3 separate regions of the Homo sapiens genome follow, and regions 2 and 3 are each linked to region 1. Evidence: promoter capture Hi-C in 16 types of primary human blood cells and fetal thymus (Javierre and others, 2016). All regions are on one chromosome and are shown on one strand. The core of a region is centred on a gene start or on the middle of the fragment in contact, and the rest is flanking DNA. Distances in the headings are between cores, read along the strand shown.

The links. Contacts are between HindIII fragments. The CHiCAGO score rates a contact against its expected background, and 5 or more counts as called.
Region 2: the fragment with the promoter of DDX59 here is called in contact with the fragment with the promoter of TIMM17A in region 1 in 2 of 17 cell types (fetal thymus and naive CD8 T cells); the score reaches 8.0 in fetal thymus.
Region 3: a contact is called between a fragment that was not itself captured here and the fragment with the promoter of TIMM17A in region 1, in 3 of 17 cell types (fetal thymus, non-activated CD4 T cells and total CD8 T cells). The highest score is 6.8, in fetal thymus.

What each region holds. Positions count from the first base shown.
Region 1 is chr1:201,954,081-201,956,838 of GRCh38, reverse strand. TIMM17A (translocase of inner mitochondrial membrane 17A) reads right to left here and starts at 1,336. Exons shown (of 6, transcript NM_006335.3): 1 at 1,287-1,336. The coding sequence starts at 1,312. RefSeq lists an enhancer at 1,058-1,347. The HindIII fragment of the contact is 2,275 bases long and covers 767-2,758 here.
Region 2 is chr1:200,668,657-200,671,414 of GRCh38, reverse strand. DDX59 (DEAD-box helicase 59) reads left to right here and starts at 1,508. Exons shown (of 8, transcript NM_001031725.6): 1 at 1,508-1,648. DDX59-AS1 (DDX59 antisense RNA 1) reads right to left here and starts at 1,908. Exons shown (of 3, transcript NR_110787.1): 1 at 1,793-1,908. RefSeq lists a silencer at 1,355-2,094. The HindIII fragment of the contact is 3,439 bases long and covers 1-1,668 here.
Region 3 is chr1:202,967,797-202,970,554 of GRCh38, reverse strand. No RefSeq gene overlaps it. Among named protein-coding and RNA genes, the nearest start is that of CYB5R1, 1.9 kb to the right of the region's middle. RefSeq lists a silencer at 2,200-2,494. The HindIII fragment of the contact is 1,767 bases long and covers 558-2,324 here.

The DNA.
Region 1 (2,758 bases), core at 87-2,586:
GACTACAGGCGCGTGCCACCACGCCCGGCTAATATTTGTATTTTTAGTAGAGACGGGGTTTCACCATACTGGCCAGGCTGGTCTTGAACTCCTGACCTCGTGATCCGCCTCGGCCTTCCAAAGTGCTGGGATTACAGGCGTGAGCCACCACACCCGGCCTTATTTTTCTAAGATCTTTAACTCAACATAGTTAAATATTTTAACTCTCTGCTAACCTGTGTCATTATAGTACATCAAACAGCTATTTACAGTGTGCTGAGTCCTACATATCTGAGCACAATCCAGAATGGAGGATAACTGCTTTGAAGAAGATAAGTTTGAAGAGCCAGGAGACCCTAAAACTTATATTTTGTATGCCATTTATGGGAGAGGGGAACATAAAACATGCAACAAGGCTAGGATACCAGAGTAGTAATTTAAGGTCCTGGGCACTTTCACAAATTGAGGACATCTTGGTTGTTGCTCTTACACAATAAAACAAATGATTAACCGAAATATCAAGATTTGATTTTTTACCTATGACCCTAGAAACTTTAAACTCTGGCAACCTGAGACTTCTGACAGCAATTACATCGTTTTATAATTATCTATGTGTCTGGTTTATTCATACTCAATAAACGCTGGATGTAACAATGAATTTCTGTCCATGGCTTTTCAGAGAACACATGCTATTACCTCTTCCTATTTCCCAGGTAATTTTTGTCCCCCTCTACCCTCAAGAAAGAATTCCAAGAAGGAAAACAAGGCCCCACGCAATAAAGAAGCTTATCCAGACCCCTTGGCTAAAATCTATGTTCCATTCATTTAAAATGCTTCACTCTGTGGACACATATCATGATACAAGTAAAACCTCAAGAATGACACTCCCTCAAATGCCTATTCTTCAGTTCCTCAACGCAGGAACTGAGCAAGGCGAGACGGAGGGACGCGCCCAAGGTCACCTCGACGAACAGGGGGGATTATAACTGGCCCCGCATAAAGTCGATTACGCCCTGCGTTGGGAGGAGGTTCCGAGGTTCTATCAAACTCAAGTCTGGACCTCCTTACCATCCATCACAAGGTCACACGGGTGCTGGGTTGGGAGAGGGAGGCTCACGCGGCCGGGGAGGTACTAAGTACAGGGCTAAGAAGCCGACTGGCCGCGAAAGACCGCATTGCCCAGTTACCAGGCCCAAGTCGACGAGGCTGCGGTTGAGTCTGGCTTGCACCTTGGGAGCCTGGACAAGGGAGAAGGAGGGCAGTGGGCAGGGGGGCAAGAGAAATGCAAAGACAGCGGTGAAGCTCACCAAGGCTCTCGCGCGTACTCCTCCATCTTGACTCCAATGCCGCGAGTGATGCCGGGCAAGCTGGGCGGAGCCTGACCCCAGAGGCGGAAGTGATCCCGAGAGGAGGGCGTTAAGGTCTATGAGCATTGGTTCACCATTTCCCGCTGCAGCCAATGGGAGCCAGGACTCCTGTGGCCAGCGTGTGGTCGGGGCATTGGCCGCGGCGTGGCGAGACTGGCCCTGCCCACGTCCTCAAAGGCCGCGAGTCCCGGCTGTGTGGGCGGGGGGCTACCAATGACGGAGTCACACTACCCGGTCACCAGAGGTTCCGTGGACTGAAATCAACGCGATACTGCCTAAATACGCTTCTTTCTTTCCCTTCCCTTCCGCCTTCCCTTCCCCCTTCCCTTCCCCCTTTCCTTTTCTTCTCTCCTTCCATCCTTTTTCTTTCTTTCTTTTTCTTTTCTTCTTCTTTTTTTTTTTGAGACAGAGTCTGGCTCTGTCGCCCAGGCTGGAGTGCAGCGGCGAGATCTCGGCTCACTGCAACCTCCGCCTCCCGAGTTCAAGCGATTCTCCTGCCTTAGCCTCCTGAGTAGCTGGGACTACAGGCGGGCGCCACCAGGTCCGGCTAATTTTTATGTTTTTTTAGTAGAGACGGGGTTTCGCCATGTTGATCAGGCTGGACTCGAACTCCTGACCTCGTGATCCGCCCACCTCGGCCTCCCAGAGTGCTAGAATTACAGGCGTGAGCCGCCGCACCCGGCCTCTTTCTTTCTCTTCTTTTCTTTTCTTTCCTTTCTCTCTCTTCTTTTTCTTTCTTTCTTTTTTGGTACTTTTGCTGTCAAATGTGGATTAATGCTATCTTATTCGTCACTTACTGTGAAGCTGTTACCAAATACACGTAGCTCCTTTAGGGCAAACAGTGTCTCAGTGATTTATAATAACCACAGTGCCTGGAATGTAGTAGATGCTCAATAAATGTTTGTGAACTGGAACTGTTTGGGCCATCTGGAGAGCCATGACCAATTTGGAGCCCTCGATTTCAGGGACATTGACACCAGAGCCTCTCACAGGCCTCTCCACTAATGATCACCAGAAGGTGTGAAGATGTTTGGCTCGGAGAAGAGGGGACTTATGGGGACCAGGCCGGGCGTGGTGACACGTGCCTGTAGCCCTGACTGTTCGGGAGACTGAGGCGGGAAGATAGCTTGAGCCCAGGAGATCTACCCCGCAGGGAGCTGTGATCATGCCACTGCACTCTAGTGACAGAGTGAGACACTGTCAAAAAAAAAAAAAAAAAAAGGTTGGGACCCATGGAGCTTTTAGTTTACTGTCAACAAAATCCCAATCATGTGATGGCTGTTAAAGTGCTCCTCTCCATTCTGTACGTTTGTAATTAACTTTAAAAATATGTATATATTTATTTTACGGAAAAGTCAATGTCATAAATAATGGAAGAGGCCGGGCGCAGTGGCACACGCCTGTAATCCCAG
Region 2 (2,758 bases), core at 259-2,758, 1.3 Mb after region 1:
GCAGTGCTAATCCTAGGTTCAAATTAGAGTCCAGCGCATGCACAGAAGGTGAACAAGAATGCTCCTACTAGCCTTATTAGTAATTACTAGGGGCAGATTCAGGTTTTATGGGGTATGAGCTTATATAATTGGAAAAGAGGAGGCTTTTAAAGAAAAAGATTCAGAATGATGAATACAAATTAGGTTCAAAAGTGACTAATTTTTATAATGGCAAAAGAAATTACAACAATTAGAAATGTCACAAAACCCAGGAAAAGAGTTCTGTTATAGGTATGTGACCTACGAACTTGGGAAGTCTGATACATTTAGTCTGTGTGGTTCCCATCAATAAAGAAAATACTTAAAGTGCATTTATAATCCTATCCGCTACAGTATTGAATACATTCCTGACAGGAGAAAACTTCCTTTTGACTAGGCAGTAAGAAATAAATGTTCTGTTACTACACGTAACAACTTGGATGAACCAAAAAAACAAATGTTGAGTGATAAAAAGCGAATTCCAGGCTATATGTATTTTTATAAAGCTCAAAAAGAAGAAAAATACACCAATACACAGGAATGCATCCAAATATGATAAAACCACTAAAAATGGCAAAGAGGGACAAAACTGAAGATAGTGGTGGTGAGCTAAGAGGCCAGGAGTAGAATCCTGGAGATGCATAGATACATGCTAAATACTGATAACGTGGTGGAGTGATAGTTTCATTAGCATACTTTAAATTTTACATATTTGGTAAATATGCTCTTTTGAATGCATCGACTATTACACTGAAAATATTTTTAAATACTTAAGGCACCTGAATATAAGCTGGCTTCCCTCCTTCCTCTCCCGTGCTGTCTCCTCTCCCCCATCACTTCTCAACTACAAGCTGCTTGGGACACGTGGCTCCAGAGGTTGGCAAAACAGGGAAATGTCAGCCCACAAGGAACAAGAACCGTGACTTGTGTTATTTTCTTGTTGGTGTTGGGGTGGGGGGAGGGGTGCGGTGGTGCAGGAAATATTATCCAGCTTATCATATATGCCACATCAAGCTGACTCCGTTTAAATTTTGAGTGGCTCTACTAGCTAAAGCCAGAAAAGGGTTTTTGGGCCCAACGGGCAGAAGTGCCCCTCCCTTTTACACTCACACTTCCCACTTTCTAAGGGTGCCAGGCCCCCGCGCCGCCCTCCTGCTTCTTTCCGGACGGTCCAACTCTTTTCCACCAGTCCCAGCCCATTCGATTACGTAAATTCTTCCAAGAGGATTCCCAAACGTGCCCCTCCGTCCAGAACTCGCCCAGCCCGGACCAGTTCCGAGATTTACCACCAGCCCAGAGCTGGGCGGGGGCGTGGAAAACGCGAGGAGCCTTCCCGCCCCTCTCCTTCTCCCTCCCTCCCTCCCAAGCCACTGCCGGCTCCCAGCCGAGCTCCGCCCCCGCGGTGGCCCCGCCTCCCCGCCGCCCGGAAAGCGGGCTGCGGCCCCCTCCCAAAACCCGGGGAAGTGGATTCTACTCTACGCTCCGCTCCGCTCCGCTCCGCACCACCAACCCCGGGCCGCAGTCCTGACGAGCGGGTCAGGGCTTGTCGGGCGGAAGCCTGGCCTGGAGCCTGGAAGGGGGAGACGGCCCGAGCGGGAGCGGGAGCGGACGCGGCCTCAGTCCTGCGCGGGTGAGCGTGCCCCGGAAGCTTGGGCCCCTGGCCGCCCTGGTGCCCCTTCTCCGGGACCTGGGGCGCTAGGCCGCGGCGGCAGAACTGGTGCCCCTGCGCGGCCTTCCTCCCATCCTTACAGTTCCCCGTGTCCCAGGCCTCTACCCGGAACCGGAGCCCCGCCCGTCTCCTAGCAGCTCCGTGACGTGAAGCGCCTCGGGGTGCGGTGCCGCCGGGCGTGGGTGGGAGGCAACGCCCGAGGGGAGGGCCCGCCAGTGCACGGGGGTGCGGGGCGCGTTGGCGAGAATTGGAGGCCGCGCCGCCGCCAGCCGTCCGCCGTCCCGCCCAGCAGGAGCACGTTCCCTTTCGCCATTGGAAGACTGAGTTCCAAGCTTTTTCCTGCTCACCTAGAGCCGTCCCTGCCCCGCCCGCCACCCCCTGTACATTTTCGGAGATTTAGGATAGTAATTCTAGACCCTCGGTTGCATTTCTGTTGGAATTTTTCTGGAAGTTGGAATCTGGCAGTTTAAACAAAGAATTTTTTTAAGAAAAATATTTATTAGTATATTTGATAGTCCCCAGATTAGGTTAAAAGCCTTATTCCCAATAACTGTAATTTTGCAAAGACATGTTTTTGGTGTAAAAAGGTATAGATATGGGTTGATGAAAAGAATCAAACTCTGAAAAATATTTGAAGAGATTTATTTTGAGCCAGATTCAAGTGACCATGGCCAGTGACAGTCCTCAGGAGGTCCTGAGAACATGTGCCCAAGGAAATTGGGGTACAGCTTGGTTTTATCTATTTTAGGAAGGCGTGAGACATCAAATACATTTAAGAAATACATTGGTTTAGTTTAGAAAGGCGGGGCAACTCAATCGGTAAATGTAAACGTTATCTGGTTGAGGTTATCTAAAGACCTGGGATCCATAAAAAGGAATGTTCAGGCTAGAGATAAAGGATTGTGGAGACCAAGTTTTATTGTGCAGAGGAAGCTCTTAGATAGACTTTAGAGAGAGCAGGTTGTAAATTGTTTTATATTGGACTTAAAAGGGTGCCTGGCTCTTAGTTGATTATCTCCTGGATCTGGGAAGGAAGGAGGGAAAACAAGGGGAGATGGGAATTCTCACCAA
Region 3 (2,758 bases), core at 192-2,691, 1.0 Mb before region 1:
AGTTTGAGACCAGCCTGGCCAACATGGTGAAACCTCGTCTCTACTAAAAGTACAAAAATTAGCCGGGGATGGTGGCGCATGCCTGTAATCCCAGCTACTCAGGAGGCTGAGGCAGAAGAATCACTTGAACCTGGGAGGCAGAGGTTGCAGTGAGTCGAGATTGCGCCACTGCACTCCAGCCTGGGTGACAGAGCAAGACTCCGTCTCAAAAAAAAAAGAAAAGTTCAAAAAGGGTGTGAGGTTGTTAGTTTTCAACATCAAGCTGCCTGGTATGCAGTCTGAGTTTGCCATTTAGTAGGTGATCTTGGGCAAGTGACTTACTTGTCCTAAACTTCAGTTTCCCCCCACTCCATAAAATGAGACTACTAATGATAATATCTATCTCACAGTTGTTGTCAGGATTAAATGGATGTTGTCAGAATACGTGAAAAGCAATTTACCTAGTTCTTGCTATATTGCACATGCTCAATAAATGTTAATTTTTTTGTCATTATTACATCTCCTGGTCTGATTCCTCCATGCCATCTCCTCAGTATGAGCAAGTCTTCCTCCAAGCTTCTTTCTGGATATCTTATCTAAAAAGGGCCACTGAGTTTTACATCCTAATTCAGAATTATAAAACACAGGTTTGAAATTCTACTTCCCCCTCACACTACATTATATATATATATTTTTTTAAACAGGGTCTTGCTCTATTGCCCAGGCTGGAGTGCAGTGGCGCAATCATGGCTCACTGCAGCGTTGATCTCCCAGGCTCAAGCAATACCCCCACCTCAGCCTCCTTAGTATCTAGGACTACAGGCCAGCGCCATCGCACTTGGCTAATTTTTGTATTTTTGTAAAGACAGGATTTTGCCATGTTGCCCAGGCTGGTCTCAAACTCCTGGGCTCAAGTGATCCATCCAGCCTCCCAAAGTGATGGGATTACAGGCGTGAACCCAGCCTGTTCTATTCTTTATTGTATACCCAGGAGGAAATCCTAAACTTAAAAGATTGGGTTAAATAAAAATTCAGAAATGCCTATCTTTTCCTCCAAACTAGGAGTAATGTAAGATTACCATGAGTCGTGGTGGAGTGGAGTTCAATTCACCACAGAATCTGAGACAGGAAGACCTGCCAGGCCATCAGCCCCTTCCCACCACTCCTGCAGCATTCATTTTCAGGAGCAAAAGAGCCTTCCCACAATTACTGAGTCCAACACTTAGTTTCCAGGATAAGCCCACACCCAACCATTCTGTCCTGTGGTTCCCAGTGATACACTCACACTTGTTAGAATGTGCCACTTTGGGGTTCAGAAAATGCAATCACTGAGAGAAGCCCGAGTTGTAGTTATGCTCTCCTTTCGTTCCATACTTCCCCCTCTCTTGCCACATCTATCCACTAGAGGGAGGAAGGCCTAGAACCTCTTTAGCCAGAGTGGAGCAGTGGCAAGGATCAGTAGTGTGGCTTCTTAACCAAGCCAGCAGTGGGGATGTCAGAAGCACCGGAACATAATCGCCTCATTCTCTCGGAACAGAAAAGAGGAAGGGTCCCTTCCTTCCCCTTTTCAACCCTCTCTGCATGGATTGGCATGTCACCATGATCTGGTGCACTCACTTCCCTCAAGTCAGTGTGCAGGCTGCTTAAAAAATTCAGAGGAACATGTACTGGGGTCTTAGGAACATTTTCAGCCAGTGGAGAGGAAAAGGAAAACTAAGTATCTCTTGGATCATTCACAGAGTTCACCAAATACAACTGAAAACTGGGGGCTCTAATGTCCCTGCTGCCCTGATGGTATTAGTTTAAGATGTTGACACTGACATCTGCAGAGATCTCATCCATCACGGTATATCAAAGAGCAAATGTCATTCTAGTTGAGAAACTCATGTATGAGAAAGAATGGTCATCTTGGGAAATCTGTAGCTCCAGCGGCTCCTGATGTTTTTTCCTGCCTCCTCCTGTCCCATGCTTGTGCCCCAGGCAGAGCTCATTCCTAAAACCATAGCTGACCCTCTGTGCTGTCTTTTAAGTTATAATAGTAGCTGCCAACTGTTGAATATTTTGCTTTATGACAGGCACTACACTAAGCACGTTAACATATCTCACTGAAGCCTCACACCAAAGCTATGAACTAGATACAATCTATCTGTAGATAATAATATATATCCATCTGTAGATATCCATCTTATATCCATCTGTAGATGAAGAAACTCAGGTTGAGTAAGCTATCTAAGGTCACAGAGCCAATAAGTGCTAGAGGCAAGATTCTTATTCTGTACACTCTGCCTCCAAAGCCCACTTCTTTGACCCTAAGGGCACAAGAACCCAAATCAGGATGTGAAGCTTGGTCTTTGAAACCAAAGGAAGCTCCTGAATCATCCTGATAGGCTGACGGCTTGGCGCTGTAAACAAAATCAGTCTTTTGTCAAAAGGAAATGAAGTTGCCATGCCACTGTTCACTCCTGTAAGAGACTCCTCTGGGCTGTTCCATTCTCTTGCTGCAATTCAGCCGGTTGAAAAACTAAGGTGACTGCACAATGATTAACTTCAGGCCCTTCTGCTCTACTTTGAGCCTGTCTCTGGTTCATCGTTACACTCTCCGCTCAGCACCCGCAGACTCAAGAGATTTCCAATCCCCCAATTTAGCGTGGTTCTACCTTAGGCAGAACTCCCATCCAGTTCGGATATAAGCGGGTCGAAGTGGCAGGGACCACCTCGCTGGGAGGAGAGGCTGGAGCTGCGGTCTTAAAAGATCTTGGGGCCGGGCGCGATGGCTCAC